Regions from separate parts of the Homo sapiens genome. Here all the other regions are linked to region 4. The links are contacts of gene promoters, found by promoter capture Hi-C in blood cells and fetal thymus (Javierre and others, 2016). All regions are on one chromosome and are shown on one strand. Each heading gives the region's core, a stretch centred on a gene start or on the middle of the fragment in contact. The rest is flanking DNA. Distances are from core to core; before and after follow the strand shown.

Region 1 (2,836 bases), core at 153-2,652, 400 kb after region 4:
GTTTGTTATACTATTCATAACATTGTAGAGTTTAATTTCATGTCATTTTGGATCTTATATAAAAATGTGAGGATTTGGATTTTTAAAAAGAATGACTCCATTTTAGGTAGCCACTTTTGATGTTAATATATAGTGAGTCCAATGTATGCTTTAGAAGTAAAGACATTGACCGTCACAGACCACTGCACTGCTTGTTCTGCTCCTTCTTCCACAGGGGAACGATGGACATGGAGAGGCAGAGAGGGGCACAGGCCTGAGTGGCGGCTTGGAGACTGGGGCATAGGGCTGGGTTTGAATCCTGAGCTTTGAACGTTCTGGCTGTGTGGCCTTGGGAACCTCTTTGGGACTCAGTTGCCTCATCTGTAAAATGGGGAGGTTCACCTTGCCTTGCTTGGTTGTTGTGAGAATTAAATAGAGCCCTATAGAAAGTCCCTGGTGGGGATGTTTGAAGATGCTGACAGTACCAACTCCAGGACACCTGGGATTTTCAGGAATGAGCCTGAGACCTCCTCACTTCCATTGGCTTTAACCACAGCCCCCGAAGTGGGAGCTGACCTGTGAGAGAGCAGCAGCTCATGGAAGCCTGGAAGCCAGGCACTGGGCCTGGTGAGCATGAGAGCTTGCGCAGCCCCAGTGGAAAACCAAGGGCCTGCCTGCAGCAGCAGCAGATGCAGCCAGCCCGGCCCTGCCCCAGAGGAGGGGGAGGACTTGCTGTCACCCCACAACCACCCACCCTGTCACACAGTGACCCTTCTGCATGGTCAGCCCAGCTGCCTCCCACCTGAGCCCCTCCAGCACACCTTTCCTCCTGCACCCCGTCCCTGCCCCCGTGGCCCAGCTGCAACTCAGGCTCTGTCTGTTGCTCAAAGGTGGGGATAGAGGTAGGGGAGAGAGAGGGAAAAACAGCCTCCCAGGCCCGGGCACCTGAGAGCCAGTGAAAGTGGTCAGCAGGGGCACCTTGCCCTGAGTTAAAAGGACAAGGAGCTGCCCACACTGCAGGTGGCCCGAAAGCTGGGTACAGAAGGTGCGAAAGGCCAGGGGACCGAGATGTGACCCAGTCCCCATGCTCTTCTTCCTCCCTCTGGGTGGTCACGGGAGGAACCTGCCCTTGAGAAACCATGTGGTTCCTTCCCACAGGCTTCTACCTCCCAGGAAGAGGATGCCCGGGGCCTTGGTTCCGTGCCAGGCTCAAGTCCCAGCTTGCTTTCTCGCCATGTGACCTAGGCAAAACCCACCCATCCTGAGAGGCCCCTGGAAAGTGCTAGCGTGTGTGTGAGGCTTTATAATTACTGCCGCAGGTTGTCCCTTGTAAGTGGGTGACAGCATGCATGGGCCAGGGCAGGAGGGGCCCTGACTGGACATGGCTGAGCTCACATGGAGCCTGCAGTGGCTTCTTCCTTTGTCCCTACCCCTACCTGCCTCACAAAGCAGTGGGGTTCCTACACCTCCCACCAGGCCCTCAGCCTCTAGGCTCCAGCCTGGGCCTAAACCAGGGCAGCCAATGGGTCCCTGGTCTGGGAGCCCAGATGTTCGGGTTCAGGGCCAGGCCCTTTGGTAACACATGGCCTAAGGCCTCTGTCTGCCCCTCTCAGGCCTCAGTTCCCCATCTGAAGCAGGCCTGGTGCTCTGATTCTGGGAAGGCGCCAGGATCAACCCATGGCCCATTTTCCCTTCCCTGCCCCTCCTGGCCTCCAGCCTGCTCCCCTCTGGTATCTCCGACTAGCCTCTCTTGGTTGTAAGTGGCAGAAACAGCACAAACCGGCTTAAGCAGCTGCTCACTGCACCTGGTCATACAGGTACTTCTCCCACCAACCGGCCCAGGAATGCTGACCTACAGGATGGCCAATTTCCTGTGTCCCAAACCTGATGAGTGTCTCCTTCACTTACAGCATAGCATTTTTTTGTTTGCTTGTTTGAGACCGTGTCTCACTCTGTCACCCAGGCTGGAGTGCAGTGGCACGATCTCAGCTCACTTCAACCTCCGCCTCCCAGGGTCAAGTGATTCTCCTGTCTCAGCCTCCTGAGTAGCTGGAACTACAGGTACATGCCACCATGCCTGGCTGATTTTTGTATTTTTAGTAGAGACAGGTTTTCACCATGTTGGCTGGGCTGGTCTTGAACTCCTGACCTCAAGTGATCCACCCGCCTCAGCCTCCCAAAGTGCTGGGATTACAGGCCACTGCACCCAGCCAAGCACAGCATCTTAAAGGGGAGCTTCAGATGTCGTGACTAGGAGTATAAACTAATGTTATATCTTCAGCCTCTGGCTAATCATTCCTTTTGGCTCAACCACTGGGAGGATGGGAAGTGTGGTGCTTTAGGATGAGGGTGACATCTGGATGAGGGCTAGGGCTGGGAAGAAGAAGGAAGGAGGAGGGAGAGACTGACACAGCCTTGCCTTTGGGAGGTAGTCATTCCCCCTGGCTAGTGAAAGAGACACCAGGGGTGGGAAGGGGAGGGGGCCATTCTCCTGGGTCCTAGAAGCTGGTGCCAGGGCAGGCTGGGCCACCAAAGGGGATGTTCCTAGGAAGCCCATCATCCTGACAGCTTTTCCAAACTCCCACCATGCACTGGCTCTGCTCTATGCTTGGCCCTGCAGGGGACGGGGGAGAGGATGCCGCTTTCTGGGGGTGGAACCTGTACTCGTGAACCGTAGTAGACTGAGTGCGGTGTCCTGGTTCAGAGCACCACAGGCAGCCCTGGCTAGAGTCCCACGTCTCCACTCATTGGTTCCATTGAAGCTCTCTGAGCCTCAATGTCCTCATCTGTGGAATGGAGTCAATAATGCTCTCTTCTGAGGTTTAGGGTAAGGGCACAGTGGAATGATCTGTGTGAC
Region 2 (2,826 bases), core at 90-2,589, 340 kb before region 4:
TTTTTGTATTTTTTTAGTAGAGAGAGGGTTAGCCAGGATGGACTCGATCTCCTGACCTCGTGATCCGCCTGCCTCGGCCTCCCAAAGTGCTGGGATTACAGGCGTGAGCCACCGCGCCCGGCCTGCACTCTTGAATTAATGGGCTCAAGCAATCCTCCCTCCTCAGCCTTCTGAGTAGCTGGAACAGGCACGCAACACCACATCCTGCTAATTTTTTTTTATTTTTTTAAGAGATGGGGGTTTCATCTTGTTACCCAGGCTGGTCTCAGACTCTTGTTTTCATGCTATCCTCCTGCCTCAGTCTACCAAAGTGTTGGGTTTACAGGCATAAGCCAACACACCGGGCCCCTACCTTGGTTTAAGAGACGAGTATCAGAGAAATAGACTACACATGAGAAAGACTCGTTTGACTTGTGGATGTGTCTGAAATTCATTTGCTTTTTCCTTTAAAACCGATTCATTTCCTTCAAAACCGATTCATTTCCTTCCACAAACAGTTATCAGGATTTGACATACACGAGTTTGTCATTAATGACCATGGGTTATTTTGTGCTTACTAAATCAGGCCCTGTTTTAGACATAATCTGCTAATCTTATTAATCCTCACAACTGCCCCACAAAATACACATGCGACCCTCTCCATAAAAGGGATAAGGAAGCCAGGTGCGGTGGCTCATGCCTGTAATCCTAGCAGTCTTGGGAGACTGAGACGGGCAGATCACTTGAGATCAGGAGTTTGAGACCAGACTGGTCAACATGGTGAAACCCCCGTCTCTACTAAAAATACAAAAATTAGCCGGGCGTGGTGGTGGCACCTGTAACCCAGCTACTCGGGGAGCTGAGGCAGGAGAATCGCTTGAACCTGGGAGGCAGAGGTTGTAGTGAGCCGAAATCACGCCACTGCACTCCAGCCTGGGTGACAGAGTGAAACTCCATCTCAAAAAAAAAAAAAAAAAAAAAAGGGTGGGGGATAAGGAAACATTCAGGAACGACGTGACATGACTTGTGCTTAGGGAAACTATTAGGGTTGAAAGTAAGGCCACCTTGGGTCCTAATGGCTGTAAGGCATCAGACAAAATACGTCAACTATGTCAGCCTACATTTTCTCATCTTTCAAACTGCCATAACAGCAGCCACCTCTTCGGCCGGCCAGGCCTGGCCCAGCTGGATTAAATGAATGAAGCGCAGCAAGGGCTGGGCGTAGGTAAACTGTGCAGTCATCCTCTTCCACGACCTCCGCTGAGCCCACGCCGCTCCGCCCGCCGGCCGCCAGGGATCGCTGTGACGTGGCTCGGGCCCAGCACGCGGCCGCTCTGGCCCAGGGAAGTCCCTGTCCTTACCTTCAGCAGGAGCCGGTTCCCTGTGTGTGTGTCCGCTCGCCCTCTGCTCCGTCCTGCGGCTGCCCACTGCCCTCCTACGGTCCACCATGGCCCTGCTGCACTCCGGCCGCGTCCTCCCCGGGATCGCCGCCGCCTTCCACCCGGGCCTCGCCGCCGCGGCCTCTGCCAGAGCCAGGTAAGCCAAGGGAAACGGAGATGGAGCCAGGGCGATGGCCCTGCCCCGCCGAGCTGCGAGCACCCCAGGACATTCACCCCTCCCGGCCCCCAAATACACACTGTCACTCACACGCACACACACACACTTTTCTGCCACCCCCTCGGCTTTCCCTTACTGGGGACTGAGGATTGAGCGTCCGTGCCCCACAGTGATCCTCAGGATCCCACATCCCTCTGGTCCCCGCACTGGGCCCTGCAGGAAGGCGTGCAACGCAATCCCTAGGGAAAGGAAGTGTGGCCCTCGGCGGTTGCCGGACTCCCATTCAGTGGGAGGGGTGCGGATAGTACTGGGGCAGCGGCGCCGGGTAACGACCGTGCCCTTGATAGGGTGCCCTGGGGGCGGCGGGCGCACCTGTCCTGGCCCCCGGCCCGCCCGAGTCGGTGGGCCGGCGGCGGCTGGCTGCCGCGTGTGTGCCCTGGGCGGGAAGAGCGCGAGAGGAAGGTTTCCGGGGCGCCGGCATTCGGGCCTCGCTTTCCTTCCCGCACCTGCGACCTTGGCGTGCGGCATTCTCCTGACCTTGCGACCCCCCGAGGTCCCTGTGACCCCGGGGCCCGTTTGGCCTTTGCTTGGGAAAGGGTCGAGGTGTAGTGTGTCTCTTTTTTTGTTTTGTTTTGTTTTTTCCTTATTGCCCCTAAGGAGGTCCGGTTGCAGGGAGGCTATCAATCTTCCTCTCCATCTCCCTGTGCTCTTTCATTCAGTAAATATTTCGTAACTGCAGTTTCTCAGAGCCAGGCTCTGGACCAGATGCCAACGATACAACTGTGAACAAGGCGAGGGAAGGACAATGACAAATGGTCATTGCTCAAAAAATGACAAACGTAATTTCGTACTGTGGCGTGTATAATAGTATGGAGGGAAATTTCAGAGCTTGAAACGAGCTCTAGTAATTCATTCCCAGTGGAGACCGGAGCCAGAAGATTAATTCAACTCAAGAAGCCGATTTGGAGCACTCTCCTTAAGCACTACCTTAATAAGGAACTGAGTTTTAAAACCACCCCCAAGCAGGTATTAACTGCAAGGAGCAAAGCGTAGCTTGGCCTTTCGTTTGAATGTATGCTCTGTGTCTTTCAGCCAGCAGAACTATCTGTCCTTTCCAAGGCCCCACAGCCTTGGCAGTACAGTTTTGCCCAGGCTTCGCACTTTTTTCTCTTCCTGACTTGGCTCCTTCCTGGCCCACTGTCAACGTGTGCTCTTTAAGTCTGCCTACCTAGTGGGCCAGAGCCAGGAGGAGTTATTTATGCAACAAATTTGGAAAACCAAAGGAGTGCT
Region 3 (2,996 bases), core at 132-2,631, 370 kb before region 4:
ACTATTTTGGTCTCTTTATGAAGATACTGTATATGCAAAATCAAATCCCAGTGTAGGAATACATTAATACAGTCTGACAACATAAGCAAGGGGACCCCCTTTAAAAACTCTAAACTCAACATCTTGGGCAAATAGGTCACTTCCAAAACAGCTCTGCTGCCTGCAACCTTCGAAGACAGAGGCAACATGGGTAGCCTGAAGAGGGAAAGTACAGAATTTGGATTTATGGTACCAGGTTGAAATTGCAGAGGGAAACAGATGGGAGATAAAATGCTCTGTGAAGTTTACATTTTTCTATACATTCATTCAGTGATTGCTGCTCACCATCTGTCTTGGCTCTGTAAGTTGGGTCTTCAAGCATTGAAAGAGCTTCATTCTGTCACTATTGCAGAATGACACTGAATGTACCACTTCTAAAGATTATACCTGGTCTAGCAGAGCCCAGCCCTGTCCCGTTAAGCCTGTTGCCCCATCCCCACATCACAAGACTAAAATGAAGGCATCTCTGGCAGCTTTCTCTCATTCTCAAGCTTCATCCTGAACCATCCCCCTCTTGCTTTTTCTTTTTTTTTTTTTCACCTCTTTTCCATTTAGAATCTGGCATGTGTCCTCAGACTATTACTGTACACCAGTGGTTCTCTTCACCAACCATAATGCCTAATTTTCCCGTTAATTTCCTACTTCTGGTTACTGTAAACAAAGTAAATCCCTCATTCCCTACAGCTGGGCCACAAAACCCAGGATAGACCCTTGTAATCTCTGTGATCCCTGGATGTTCACATGAGCTCTTGACTGATGCCCACTTCCTGCATGTTGGTCAACATTTTACCTGGATCCTTTGGAAGGAAGGGAAACAAAAAGGATCAGCAATATGAACCTCTTAATTTGAGTAAATGCTAATCAAACCCAATAACAGGCCGGGCATGGTGGTTCACGCCTGTAATCCCAACACTTTGGGAGGCTGAGGTGGGTGGATCACCCGAGGTCAGGAGTTTGAACCAGCCTGGCCAACATGGCAAAACCCCGTCTCTACTAAAAATACAAAAAATTGTCTGGGTGCAGTGGCTCACGCCTGTAATCCCAGCACTTTGGGAGGCCGAGGCAGGCGGATCATGAGGTCAGGAGTTCAAGACCAGCCTGACCAATGTGGTGAAACCCCGTCTCTACTAAAAGTACAAAAAAATTAGCTGGGCGTGGTGGCACGTGCCTGTAGTCCCAGCTACTCGGGAGGCTGAGGCAGGAGAATCACTTGAACCCAGGAAGCGGAGGTTGCAGTGAGCCGAGATCACGCCATTGCACTCCAGCCTGGACAACAGAGCCAGACTCCGTCTCAAAAAAAAAAAAAAAATTAGCCAGGCATGGTGGTGGGCACCTGTAATCCCAGCTACTTGGGAGGCTGAGGCAGGAGAATCACTTGAGCCTAGGAGGCAGCGGTTGCAGTGAGCCAAGATCATACCACTGTACTCCAGCCTAGGTGACAGAGCAAGACTATGTTTAAAAAAAAGAAAGAAAGAAAAAAGAAACAAAAACAATAACAGATGTTCTCTTCAGCTTTCACTCTCCGTTTTGCATCATGTGAAAAGTCATGCCCTCCCCAATAATTTTTGTTCAGTTCTAAGATCTTTATATTCTCATTGCCACTCCTTTCAGCAATTCCCTAACTCCACTGAATTCTGATTTCTGATTTTAGTTATGCCATATGTTCATTTACTGAGTCCTAAATATCTTTCTTATATCATCAAATATTTCTCAAGTTGGCCGGGCATGATGGCTTACACCTGTAATCCCAGCATTTTGGGAGGCCAAGGTGGGCGGATCACTTGACTACAGGATTTCAAGACCAGCCTCACCAACATGATGAAACCCTGTTTCTACTAAAAGTACAAAAATTAGCCTGGCATGGTGGCGTATGCCTGTAATCCCAACTACTCGGGAGGCTGAGGCAGGAGAATTGCTTGAACCCAGGAGGCAGAGGCTGCAATGAGCCAAGACTACACCACTGCACTCCAGCCTTAGTGACAGAGCGAGACTCCGTCTCGATTAAAATATATATATATTTCTCAAGTCCTTCATATATGAATGTAACAAAACCCCATCACTGTTATCTAAGACATAATGATCTAGTGCGGGGACAGAATAATGAACAGGTAATTAAACACTGTTAAATGCTCTGATTGCAAAAGTAGAGTGTACTTCATTCTAGGGTGAGCTGAGAGGTTAGAAAAAGCTTCCCAGAGAAGTAAGAAGCAGGGAATACCCAGATTCTTGCAACTCAAAATGTGGTCCATAAAAATAGATAAATCTACAATTATACTTGGAAATTTCAGTATCTCTCTCTCTCTCTCAAAAATTAATAGAACACTGGGCACAGTGGCTCACACCTGTCATCACAGCACATTTGAAGGCCGAGATGGGAGGATCACTTGTGCCCAGGAGTTCTTAACCAGCCTGGGCAACAAAATGAGACCCCATCTCTATAAAAAATGTAGAAAGTAGCTGTACATAGTGGCATGAGCCTGTGGTCCCAGCTACTCAGAAGGCTGAGGCAAGCAGATCACTTGAGCCCAGGAGGTCGAGGCTGCAGTGAGCCATGTTCACACCACTGCACTCCAGTGCTTGGGTGACACAGTTAGACCCTGTCTCAGAAAAAAAAAAAAAAAATGACATAACAAGTGGACAGGAAATCACCAAGGAGATAGTAGACTTGACAACTATGAACCAACTTGACCTAGTTGACATTTATAAAACACTCGACCAAACAACAGCAGGATAAACATTCTTCTCAAATGCACAAAAAACAGTTACAAAAAAAAAAATCCTACTCTGGGACATAAATCGAGTCTCAATTATTTCAAAAGAATTCAAGGCATACAAAGTATATTCTCTGCCCACAAATTAATTAAATTAGAAATCAATAACTGAAAGAGCTCTGGAAAAATCCCAAAATATTTGGAAACTAAATAGTACTCATCTAAATAACCCACAGGTCAAAGATG
Region 4 (2,872 bases), core at 49-2,548:
AACCTCTGCCTCCTGGGTTCAAGAAATTCTCCTGCCTCAGCCTCCAGAGTAGCTGAGATTACAGGCGCCGGCCACCACACCCAGCTTTCTAGTAGAGATGGGGTTTCACCATGTTGGCCAGGATGGTCTGGATCTCTTGACCTCGTGATCCGCCCGCCTCAGCCTCCCAAAGTGCTGGGATTACAGGCGTGAGCCACCGCATCCGGCCTATTTGACTTTTAAAACGTTGGTTATGTATTACTTTGATAAAAATTAACTTGAAACAAACAGACCAAACAATAAACATCGTTCTATACAAAACTTAGGTGAAACAGGATATCCAAATTAATCATTACAAGCCATGTTCCTGGGACAATTTTATATTTGAAGCCATATGGCCTTGGGTTCCGAATCCCAGCTCACCACTAACTGAAGCCCTGGCCAAGTGACCCAGCCTTTCTGGTTGCTGAAGGATTAAAGGGAAAAGCTTACTCCCCACACCCAACCATGCTGCCACTAAGTAAGCCTCAGTAGGGCTTACTGATCCTGTCATCATTATGGAGGAATGAATTTAGCAACTTGGGGTTCCTACTTATCACATGCTCTTACAGAACCCAAAGCTGTTTTAAGGCAAACATGATCAGAACTCTAATTCTTAAGTATTCAGCTGGAGCCAATCTTTAAGCATTCAACACACGTTGCATGGGGTAGGGGGAAGACACTAATTTGGACAGTTTCAAAAAAGAAATCAATGTTGGAGGCTGCCTGGCGACCTAGGATAAATGTAGTTTCACCACAGATGGCGAACAAGAAGTCTGGAGACCACCCCGAGCGCGAAGGGACCCCCGCGGAGTTTCCGAGAAGTCGTTAGCGCCTTCGGCCCTGGCTCCTCGAAAACTACAAATCCCAAAGGGCAGCGCGCCCCGATGCGGCGTCCCAGGGCCGAGGGGCCCGCCGGGAGCTGCAGTCTTTCCGGGCAGGACCCCGCACCCAAAGGCTCACCTGTGGGACCGCGTTGTCAGTCTCGGCGCCTGCGCTCCGCTCCAGGAAGAAAGCGCCAAGGCGAGGCATGGCGGTCTCCGTGCGCACCGGCAGCTTCTCGTGGGACATCAGGATGTCGTCCAAAGAAAGAAAGTTCTCCTCAGGCCCCAGCGCACCCGACTCCACTCGGAAATAAGCCTCTGACATGGCGGCCACTTGAGCTTCTCCGCTTCCACTCGCGTGATTCGGAGGAGCCTCAGGAGTTAGGGGTGTACAAGACGGGGAAGCGGAGACTGGGCAGGATGGTTGGGGTCAGGAAAGTGGATTGAAACTCGTTTCCCGCGCCCGGGGACGCATCAGACAGGAGCAGTCAATTCGGGCGGTACCGCCCAGGCAGAAGCAATCGATCAAGTCTGCAGATTTAGAGCAGCGGGACACGGCTGGGGAGCGGTAGGTGGGGGCGCCGGAAGTTCTCTTCCCTCCGCTTGCTGCACGGTGTGGGAACGTTACGAAGAAGCTGGAACGCTCGTTGAAGCTCCTGGACCCATTTGTACTGGATTGTGTTCATGTGATCCTTAACTATTTATATGAAATTAAAAACACTTTGCAACACTTTTAGGGGTTTAAAATAAAAGCATCTTGTGCCCTTCACTCCAGGCCTAAGTCCGACCCTTTCCTACAGTTTTTTTCACTATGCAACTCCGTTAATCTTAGTATTTGAAAGAAATGTTAAACAAACAAAAACTTCCAGCACTATCCCCAGCGAGTTATTATGGTCTAGATGATGAACTAGTGTGTTGTATTTTGTTAGTATTTTGGTGGGGGTTGGACGGGGTGGGTAGAGGGGTGGAGCACTAGACTGCACATGGCTTGCTAAGGTTGTGAGTATACTTCAGGGTGTCTTAGCTCATCATCAACTGACAATCTCCTTTTGTGGCTCTGAATTTAAATCCCTAAAAATGGAAATCCAATTGGTCCAGTTTATTGATTGGTCCAGGTACGCCACAATGGTCATAGATCTCCAGCCACCCTGTAGATGGGGGTGCCTGTGTTGGGTGCGATCACTATCCAGTGACCAGGGGAAGGACCATGGTCGCATAGTACCAGGTTTGGTGGCTCTCCTCAGCCAGGGCTATGGGTGGCGGCATATTGTTGAGAGATGCACTACAGAACTTACTTCGTCTAGAGCATTTCTGGGGCTACTGGAGCCGGGAGTAAAGGGTGTGTGTGAAGGGAGGTGTGTATTAACCATGGATTTTAGTTTCTGTTTTCTGTATTTTATGATGCTTTGACATCTTGGGGCCTTGGGGACCTGGGGAGGAATTGCCCCTTTCAGAGTTAGCTAATTCCTAGAGATAGCAAACAACTTGCTTGTGAACACCCCTTTCATTTACAAACCAACCAACCCAAGCCTATATCCCCACACCATCTTTATCCATCTCACACACCAATATTTTCCCTGCCCCAAGTCACTGTAATAAACCACCCCATGGCCAAGTACCAGACAACTAAAATTCACCTCTATATCCCAGAGCTTGCCAACATTATTCAAATTATTCAATCCTAAGCTTGTTCAGACTTCCCTTCCCTGCTTCGCCCATTCCTTCCCACGGCAATAAAGGCTCTGGGCTTTCTCCTCGCTCTCTCTACCTCCTCATTGACCCTAATACTTTCTCGTGTGGCCGTAGGCACAGCCCCTTCTCTTGAGAACTATAATAAAATTTTCAAAGGCATTGGCCACTAACTCATTGATTGTCATCACCCAGTCACCTTTATAAATGAAATTCTGAGGACAATGAAAACAAGGTGCAGTGGGGTGGAAAGGAATGGCCAAACTGTGGAAAATCTTGGTACCATTCTAAGGAGTTAGGCCATTCCATAGAAAATGGGAGGAAAATGTAAGGCAAATAAT
Region 5 (2,700 bases), core at 188-2,687, 420 kb after region 4:
TCCCTGTCCATGTGGCGCAGGGTGGGCAGGGCTGGGTGGTAGAGCTGCTGCTTCACGCCCGCCAGCTGGTTGCGCTGCCGCTCCATGGGAAGCAGGATGGCCGGGGAGGCATACACATGTGTGGAGCCATCGTCCCAGGGCACCAGGTCAATGATGCGGGCCATAGCTGGGGGGCAGAGGGTTCTAAGGGGCTCACCCTGGGCTCATGCTGGCCAGACACCCTTCTCTGCATGAAAACAACCTTGGCCAGTGCCGATGTCTACTTGCCAAACATTTATTTAGCACCTACTGTGTGCCAGGCCATTTTTCTGGAGCTCAGCATGAGGTGGCAGGAACATTCAGATAACAGAAGATAACAGAGACAACCCTCCCACTCCCCTTCCAACACACACATACACACACACACACACACACACACACTCACATTGTGCCATGGCTGTGAGGGAGGTCAGTACAGAGTGTGTGTTTCTGGGGAGGCTGGGGTTAGGACATTCAAGGAATGGTCTAAAAGAGGTGGTATTTGAGTCTATTCGTTTTTTTTTCTTTCTTTCTTTTCTTTTTTTTTTTTTTTTTGAGACAGTCTCACTCTTCTGCTCAGACTGAAGTACAGTGGCGCCATCTTGGCTCAATGCAACCTCTGTCTCCTGGGTTCAAGTGATTCTCCTGCCTCAGCCTCCTGAGGAACTGGGATTATAGGCATCCACCACCACATGTGACTAGTTTTTGTATTTTTAGTAGAGACGGGGTTTCACTGTGTTGGCCAGGCTGGTCTCGAACTCCTGACCTCAAGTGATCCACCCGCCTCAGCCTCTCAAAGTGCTGGGATTACAGGTGTGAGCCACCTTGCCTGGCGAGTCTATTCTTAAATAATAAGCAGGAAAGTGCAGCAGCAAGCGGGTTCAGAATGTAGCTTAGTATGCCGTATACCTCTGGGTGAATAATTATGGACTTGCCCTAGCTATTTACCCAAAATTCTACAGATTGACTCAGAAAGATTTTCAGGAAGGGGAGCAACATGATATATTTAAACTAGAAAAGCATTACTGGATACCCAGTGCCTCCCTTTAAAAAGCAGATAGTCCCAGGAGCCTTTCAGTCATTTACACTTTAGTGAGAATTTGTTGAGACAGCTTGCTTTCTTCCTGACCCTGAGTTAGAGGTGAGAGGTGGAGGTGGAAGCTAGGGTGGCAGGAGGAGAGAGGACCTTAGATCATGGAGGAGCAGGGAGGGGGCATGGTGACAAGGCATGGGGAAGCTGCCTTAGGGGATGTGACTGCCTGGGGAGGGACAGGGAGGGGGATCACGGATATGGGGAAGAGAGCAAGGGCTCCCTGCTTCTGACTCACCAATAGCAGCTACCTTATCTGTAGGGCCCAGGCCCAGGTGCACAGGCTTATAAGGACTTTCAGTTCTTTGACTGCTCAATGGGCAGAAGAGGAAGGGAGGTGGACGAGCCCTTATTATGGACAGCAGCAGAATAAAGGAACATTGTGCACAGACAATGCCCATTGCAGCCTGATTCTGAGGCACCCACTCCTTAGCAACCCTGGCAACTACAGGCTCTAACAAGAGCCTGTGCCAGAATTCCTGTGCTCTGGCCACTCCCTTCCAGCCTTCCTGAAGGCTGTGGTCTCCCAGGCCTTAGCACAGGCCAGGCATCTTGGGAAATGTCAGATGGGGAGCTGGGGTTCCCTGGAGGTAGTCAGGCCAAGGCAGGCCAGAAATGGCTACTGAGCCCACTGCAGGCTGTGTAATCCTGGGCTAATTACCGCCTCTCTCTGGGACTCAAGGCTCTCCTCTGTGTTAGGCAAGGACTCTAGGATCTGCCGTTAGGAGGATCTGGATGCTGAGAGGGATCTCCCCTCCCTGGAACCCTCAGGGAAGAGGGCACTGCACTGTCTGCCAGCCCTTGAGTCTCCAGGAGTGGAGATTAGCTGTGGCCAGTATCCAGGGTAAGCGTGAGGGGATCAGGGAGAGTGGTGGACTCAGCAGGCCAGGGATTAGCAGATGATACTCCACCCTCAGCCCCTGCAGGACTGCAGGCTCCCAGAAAAGCCAGGCTGTGAGTGCCCAAGGCCAGCACCCCAAAGCCCTGGGGCCTGCCCACCATCCTGGTCACAACCATTAGAGACAGACCCCCAAGGTGAGGAAACCCCAGGAGATCCTAACTTATTTGCATATATTGGCATGTGCTTTTGCATATACCTGCCCAGGGGCTGAACCTGATGGGTCTTGGAGCCCCTCCTGTGAAATTCTTGTAGGATTTGTTTCCCCAGTTGCTCCTCCTCCAGTGCTCCATACAGCTTCCAGAACAGCATTCCTAACTGCTACCCCTTACAAAAAACCTTCCCAGAGTTGACTCCACTCACCACCCCACCCCCAATTTATTTCTTGACTCTTTTAAAGTTATAAAATAGAAGAAATACAGAAAGTGAATAAATATCTAATGTAACTAATAATTTACAAAATGAGACCCCGTATAACTACCACCCACCCTGGTCAAGACATGGAGTACTACTTTTAAAACAGTTTATCAGTTTCTTAAAAAATGAAACAGAAATGTACCATATGATTGGGTCATCTGGAAGATTCTACCCCAGGAGGCTTCCCAAGAGAAATGAAAGTATATTGTGAGGCACGATGGCTCACACCTGTAATCCCAGCACTTTGGGAGGCTGAGGTGAGCAGATCACTTGAGGT
Region 6 (2,869 bases), core at 337-2,836, 300 kb before region 4:
AGGCTCTGTGCAAGCAGAAAGTGAAGTCCAGGACAGAGGGATAAACTGCCAACCAGAGAATTAAAATCAAACGGGCTGGGATACTTACTGGTTCAAGGCATTTAAGGAAATCTATCAAATTCACTAAACTAACTCAGAGGAGACTTCAGTGGCCACACACAGCAAAGAATACAGACTTTAAAGAATTAGTCCAGGAAGGTCACTACAGAAAAGGTAGCAGCAACAAACTCCAATTTTTGGATTTCCATATTATATTATTTTTCAATGTCTAGTCTTCAAAAACATTATGAAAAATGTAAAGAAATGGGAAAGTATGGTCCATACATAGGGAAAAAAGCAGTCAATAGAAACTGTCCCTGAGGAAGCCCAAGCCCAGGCATTAGACTTACTAGACAAAGACTTGGAATCACATAGGCAAAGAGTGAAAGGAAATTATGTCTGAACAACTACAGAAAAGTATGAGAACAGCGTCCTGTCATATAGAGACTATCAATGAATAGATATTATTAAAAAGACCCAAATAGAAATTCTGGAGTTAAAAAGTACAGTAATAACTGAAATTAAAAATTTAATACAAGGGCTCAATAGTAAATTTGTGCTGACAGAAGAATCACTGAACATGAGGATACATCAATTGAGATTATCCGGCCTATGGAAGAGAAAGAAAAAAAATGAAGAAAAATGAGGGCTGGCTGTACCTGTAATCCCAGCACTTTGGGAGGCTGAGGAGGGCAGATCACTTGAAGCCAGGAGTTCCACACCAGCCTGGCCAACAAGGTGAAACCCCGTCTCTACTAAAAATATGGAAATTAGTCGAGCATGGTGGCATGTGCCTGTAATCCCAGCTACTCAGGAGGCTGAGACATGAGAATCACTTGAACCCAGGAGAGGGAGGTTGCAGTAAGCCAAGATCACAACACTGCACTCCGGCCTCGGTGACTGAACCAGACTGTCTCAAAAAAAAAGAATGAAGAAAAATGAACAGAATTTCAGAGACCTGTGAGACACCATCAGGCATACCAACATATACATAATGGCTGTCTCAAGAGAGCGAGAAGGGAGCAGAAAGAATATTTGAAGAAATAATGATGGAAAACTTTCCAAAGTTGAGAAAAACATTATCTACACATCCAAGAAACTCTAAGATAATCTTTTTTTATCTTTTTTTTTTTCCTTGAGACGGAGTCTCACTTTGTTGCCCAGGCTGGAGTGCAGTGGCGCAATCTCGGCTCACTGCAAGCTCCGCCTCCCAGGTTCACGCCATTCTCCTGCCTCAGCCTCCCGAGTAGCTGGGACTACAGGCGCCCGCCACCACGCCCAGCTAATTTTTTGTATTTTTAGTAGAGACGGGGTTTCACCATGTTAGCCAGGATGGTCTCGATCTCCTGACCTCGTGATCCGCCCACCTTGGCCTCCCAAAGTGCTGGGATTATAGGCGTGAGCCACCGCGCCCGGCCTAAGATAATCTTAAAGAGATCCATACCTAGAAACATCATAAACTATCCAAAGTCAAAGAGAGAAATTTGAAAGCAGCAAGAGAAGGAACACATACCGGGCTCCTCAGTGAGCTTAACAACTGGTTTCTCATCAGAAACCATGGAGGCCGGAGGCAGTGAGGAGACACATGCAAAGTGCTCAAAGAAAAAGACCATAAATTAAGAATTCTGCATCCAGCAAAACTATCCTTCAAAAACAGAGAAATTAAGACATTCCCAGATGAAAACAGAGAAAATTGTTGCTAGCAGATCTGTCCTATAAGAAATATTCAAGGAAATCCTTAAGGCTGAAATAACAGGACACTAGACAGTAATTTGAATGAAGAAATAAAGAGCACCAGTAAAAGTAACTACATAGTAAATATTAAAAGTAGTACAAATGCATTTTTTTGTGTATAACACTTTTCTTGTGTTCCCTACTTATTTTTTATTTTTTAAAACACAGTCTTGCTCTGTCCCCCAGGCTGGAGTACAGTGGTGCAACCTCAGCTCACTACAACCTCTGCCTCCGAGGCTCAGCAGTTCTCCCGCCTCAGCCTCTCCAGTAGCTGGGACTACAGGTGCACACCCCCATACCCAGCTAATTTTTTTTTTTTTTTTTGGTAGAGATGGGGTTTCACCTTGTTGCCCTGGCTGATCTCAAACTCCTGGGCTTAAGTGATCCACTCATATCCACCTCTCAAAGTGCTGGGATGACAGGCATGAGCCATCACACCTGGCCATGCTCTCTCATTTAAAAGGCAACTGCATAAAGTAAGAATTATAAAACTATGTTGATGGAGCCAAGCTCAGTGGCTCATGCCTGTAATCCCAGCACTTTGGGAGGCCAAGGTGGGCAGATAATTTGAGGTCAGGAGTTTGAGAGCAGCCTGGCCAACATGGTGAAACCCTGTCTCTACTAAAAATACAAAAATTAGGTATTTTTAGTGGTAATGCATGCCTGTAGTCCCAGCTACTCAGGAGGCTGAGGTGGGAGAATAGCTTGAACCCGGGAGACAGAGGTTGCAGTGAGTCAGCATTGTGCCACTGCACTCCAGCCTGCATGACAGAGTGAGACCCTCTGTCAGAAAAAGAATTTTTTTAATTTAACAGTAAAACTATGTTGATGGGTTTATAATGTATATAAACTCTTGTCATACTGAAGTAACATATAGGGGAAGAGAACAAAAGGATATAGAAGCAAAGATTTGGAACCAAGTGAATTAAATTGGTATTAATTCTAACTAGATTGTTGTACTAACATTAATTATAATCCACAGGGCAACCACTAAGAAAATCACTCAAAACTGTATATAGTAAATGTCTTAGTCCATTTTGAGTTGCTGTAACAGAATACCACAGACTGGAGAATTTATAAGCAATAGAAGTTTATT
Region 7 (2,881 bases), core at 243-2,742, 330 kb before region 4:
AGGCATGAGCCACCGCACCCAGCCTCTCAGTGTCTTTTTATATCTTTTATATAATTCACCCCTTTTTCATATTGAGGAGGAATTTTTGTGTTCTGAAAGTTTCCCGTGTAACATGAAATGATACTGACAGGCCATAAAGAATGAGCTTCTGAAGTATGAAAGGTCCTGGACAAAGCAGTGGCCCTGGGTCTGGGCCTGTATAGAGAGTGTTGCACATCACTGACCGTGGGTATCTCTCCTTCAGTTTGTCACTGTGCAGACCATTTCTGGAACTGGAGCCTTAAGGATCGGAGCCAGTTTTCTGGTGAGTCTGGAAGCTTCTTCAGGAAAGAATTATAAATTCCAGATGACAGGGCTTCCTGTTGTGTGTGTATTTGACTGTTGATGCAGAAGTAGATTTCTTCTTTCCGTGAAGTTTGCAGATGTCCTATTCTCATGAAAAAATGAAAGGACTTTGAAGAAATTACAGGAAAGATATATTAGTGATGATGATAAATTCAGTTCACTAGGAACTTACTATTTACTAGGGAGCTTTTGCATTTTAACTTGTTTAATCCCTATGAGAGAGGTACAATTAACCCCCTTTACAAGTGAAGAAAGCAAGACCCAGAAAGGTCCTTGGCTACATGGCCAGTATAACTGTCAGAGACTATTCCAACCCAGGCAGTCTTACTGCTGAGTCAATACTGCTTCTCAACCATAGAGAGAAACTGGGTTTCAGCAGAGAAAAATGTTCTCTCAATAAAACACATCAACATTTTTTTGCCTCTCCTTTGTTCATTTTTCTGTTTCCTTTCGTCCCATCTTTTAGCAAAGATTTTTTAAGTTCAGCCGAGATGTCTTTCTGCCCAAACCAACCTGGGGAAACCACACACCCATCTTCAGGGATGCTGGCATGCAGCTACAAGGTTATCGGTATTATGACCCCAAGACTTGCGGTTTTGACTTCACAGGCGCTGTGGAGGATATTTCAGTAAGTGTGGCTTTCAGGGTGAGAGAGGTGAATAAAACTCCTTGCTTGCGGACATTTGATGTCTCCCACCATGTCCCAATATCTGAGTTAAAATACTGGGGAAGAGCTGATTCCCAGGGTTCTGGTTACCTTTGTTACTTATCAAATGATGACGATCCTGTGGCATTTCAGATAAACCATTTCCTTTAAAGCTGCAAAGTCGTCTCTTGGCTGTTTTTCTCTTTAGAAAATACCAGAGCAGAGTGTTCTTCTTCTGCATGCCTGCGCCCACAATCCCACGGGAGTGGACCCGCGTCCGGAACAGTGGAAGGAAATAGCAACAGTGGTGAAGGTGAGGACGATGAACTCACTGGCGACAGTTCTGTGTTTAGTAACCAGCTTTGGAGGCTTAATTTGGCAATGTCTCAACAGAGAGTCTTAACCTCGAACCTGCGTGAAATGTCCACACAGGTGGATAAGCTGCCAGAAAAGGGCTCCCCATTTGCGTGATTAGCAGTTCTGGGATTGATGACGCATGAGTATTTGAAAGTAATTTTTTTTGGCTGGGCGCGGTGGCTCACGCCTGTAATCCCAGCACTTTGGGAGGTCGAGGCAGGTGGATCACCTGAGGTCAGTTCGAGACCAGCCTGGCCAACATGGTGAAACCCCGTCTCTACTAAAACTACAAAATTAGCTGGGCGTAGTGGCCCATGCCTGTAATCCTAGCTACTTGGGAGGCTGAGGCAGGAGAATCACTTGAACCCAGGAGGTGGAGATTGTGGTGAGCCGAGATTGTGCCACTGCACTCCAGCCTGGGCAACAAGAGCAAAACTCTGTCTCTAAAAAAGAAAAAAAGAAAATAATTTTTTTCCTCATCCTGGATGTAGGGAACTCTGATAAAACCTGTCCACTGGCCCCAGGATGTCTGCTGTTGATGCCTATATTCGCCCTGGTCAGTGGTTGCTTATTGATCTTTTTAAACACTTTTTCATGTCCTCTCCTTTGCAGCATTGCCATGATCACTCTCAAAGTGTAGCCAGCTGTCAGAGAAGACACTAGTCAAAATTCCTAGGGAGGAAAATGTTATTCCTGTTGTCTCATGTCCCTGTTTTCCCTTTTCACTCCTTTTCATTTCCCTTTCTTTTCTCTCTCTCTCTTTTTTTTTCTTTTGAGACAGAGTCTCACTCTGTCGCCTTAAGCCAGAACGCAGTGGCACAGTCACAGCTCACAGCAGCCTCTACCTCCAGGGCTCAAACAATCCTCCTACCTCAGCCCCTGAGTAGCTGGGACTACAGACATGTGTGCCACACCTGCCTGGCTAATTCTTCCTATTTTTCACAGAGACAGCATCTCACTTTGTTGCCCAGGCTGATCTCAAACTCCTGGGCTCAAGTGATCCTCCCACCTTGGCCTCCCAAAGTGCTGGGATTATAGACATGGGCCACCATGCCTGGCCAGTTTCCCTTTCTTTAACTTCTGTCAAATCTAAGCTGCAAACAGAATGAGACAGAAACAGCATTTGGAGAGCACTTTCAAGATAAAATGGTTCTAATGATGTTGTCTCGTGAGTCCTGGGTATAAGTTGAGTCTTCCAGGATTACGTTAGCCCCAGAAAAGGCTTATTGTGCTTATTGGGACCATGCCCACCTCACATAAACATCTTTCAGACTTTTATAAACATCTGGGGCCTCTTCAGAAAGACTGCTAAAGCTTCGATCTTTCGTTCCTTCTCAGAAAAGGAATCTCTTTGCGTTCTTTGACATGGCCTACCAAGGCTTTGCCAGTGGTGATGGTGATAAGGATGCCTGGGCTGTGCGCCACTTCATCGAACAGGGCATTAATGTTTGCCTCTGCCAATCATATGCCAAGAACATGGGCTTATATGGTAAGCTACAGCATCCAGCATGACACATGCTCTCATGCTGGGAG

What was found. The method cuts DNA at HindIII sites, captures the fragments that hold promoters and counts their contacts. A CHiCAGO score of 5 or more calls a contact.
Region 1: a contact is called between a fragment that was not itself captured here and the fragment with the promoter of GINS3 in region 4, in 2 of 17 cell types (non-activated CD4 T cells and activated CD4 T cells). The highest score is 6.3, in non-activated CD4 T cells.
Region 2: the fragment with the promoter of GOT2 here is called in contact with the fragment with the promoter of GINS3 in region 4 in 4 of 17 cell types (activated CD4 T cells, naive CD4 T cells, total CD4 T cells and 1 more); the score reaches 6.7 in activated CD4 T cells.
Region 3: a contact is called between a fragment that was not itself captured here and the fragment with the promoter of GINS3 in region 4, in 3 of 17 cell types (activated CD4 T cells, total CD4 T cells and non-activated CD4 T cells). The highest score is 7.9, in activated CD4 T cells.
Region 5: the fragment with the promoter of SPMIP8 here is called in contact with the fragment with the promoter of GINS3 in region 4 in 5 of 17 cell types (M2 macrophages, erythroblasts, megakaryocytes and 2 more); the score reaches 9.9 in M2 macrophages.
Region 6: a fragment that was not itself captured here is called in contact with the fragment with the promoter of GINS3 in region 4 in 9 of 17 cell types (activated CD4 T cells, naive CD4 T cells, non-activated CD4 T cells and 6 more); the score reaches 10.4 in activated CD4 T cells.
Region 7: a contact is called between a fragment that was not itself captured here and the fragment with the promoter of GINS3 in region 4, in 6 of 17 cell types (naive CD8 T cells, activated CD4 T cells, naive CD4 T cells and 3 more). The highest score is 6.7, in naive CD8 T cells.

Annotation. Positions count from the first base shown.
Region 1 is chr16:57,992,019-57,994,854 of GRCh38, reverse strand. It overlaps ZNF319 (zinc finger protein 319), which reads left to right. Exons shown (of 2, transcript NM_020807.3): 2 at 1-179. Among named protein-coding and RNA genes, the nearest start is that of ZNF319, 7.2 kb to the left of the region's middle. The HindIII fragment of the contact is 8,196 bases long and covers 1-2,836 here.
Region 2 is chr16:58,732,829-58,735,654 of GRCh38, reverse strand. It overlaps GOT2 (glutamic-oxaloacetic transaminase 2), which reads left to right and starts at 1,339. Exons shown (of 10, transcript NM_002080.4): 1 at 1,339-1,515. The coding sequence starts at 1,427. RefSeq lists enhancers at 1,215-1,294, 994-1,612 and silencers at 1,735-1,824, 1,925-2,014. The HindIII fragment of the contact is 10,522 bases long and covers 1-2,826 here.
Region 3 is chr16:58,765,085-58,768,080 of GRCh38, reverse strand. The region is part of intron 2 of LOC107984867 (a long non-coding RNA gene); the gene reads right to left. Among named protein-coding and RNA genes, the nearest start is that of GOT2, 32 kb to the right of the region's middle. The HindIII fragment of the contact is 1,697 bases long and covers 533-2,229 here.
Region 4 is chr16:58,390,897-58,393,768 of GRCh38, reverse strand. It overlaps GINS3 (GINS complex subunit 3), which reads right to left and starts at 1,298. Exons shown (of 3, transcript NM_022770.4): 1 at 982-1,298. The coding sequence starts at 1,167. RefSeq lists enhancers at 505-1,081, 986-1,475, 1,082-1,659. The HindIII fragment of the contact is 2,062 bases long and covers 469-2,530 here.
Region 5 is chr16:57,975,281-57,977,980 of GRCh38, reverse strand. It overlaps SPMIP8 (sperm microtubule inner protein 8), which reads right to left and starts at 1,437. Exons shown (of 8, transcript NM_199456.3): 1 at 1,347-1,437; 2 at 1-166. The coding sequence starts at 164. The HindIII fragment of the contact is 9,202 bases long and covers 1-2,700 here.
Region 6 is chr16:58,692,696-58,695,564 of GRCh38, reverse strand. No RefSeq gene overlaps it. Among named protein-coding and RNA genes, the nearest start is that of SLC38A7, 9.4 kb to the right of the region's middle. The HindIII fragment of the contact is 6,848 bases long and covers 1-2,869 here.
Region 7 is chr16:58,716,619-58,719,499 of GRCh38, reverse strand. It overlaps GOT2 (glutamic-oxaloacetic transaminase 2), which reads left to right. Exons shown (of 10, transcript NM_002080.4): 4 at 245-304; 5 at 812-973; 6 at 1,200-1,304; 7 at 2,687-2,837. Among named protein-coding and RNA genes, the nearest start is that of GOT2, 16 kb to the left of the region's middle. RefSeq lists an enhancer at 246-1,445. The HindIII fragment of the contact is 2,345 bases long and covers 320-2,664 here.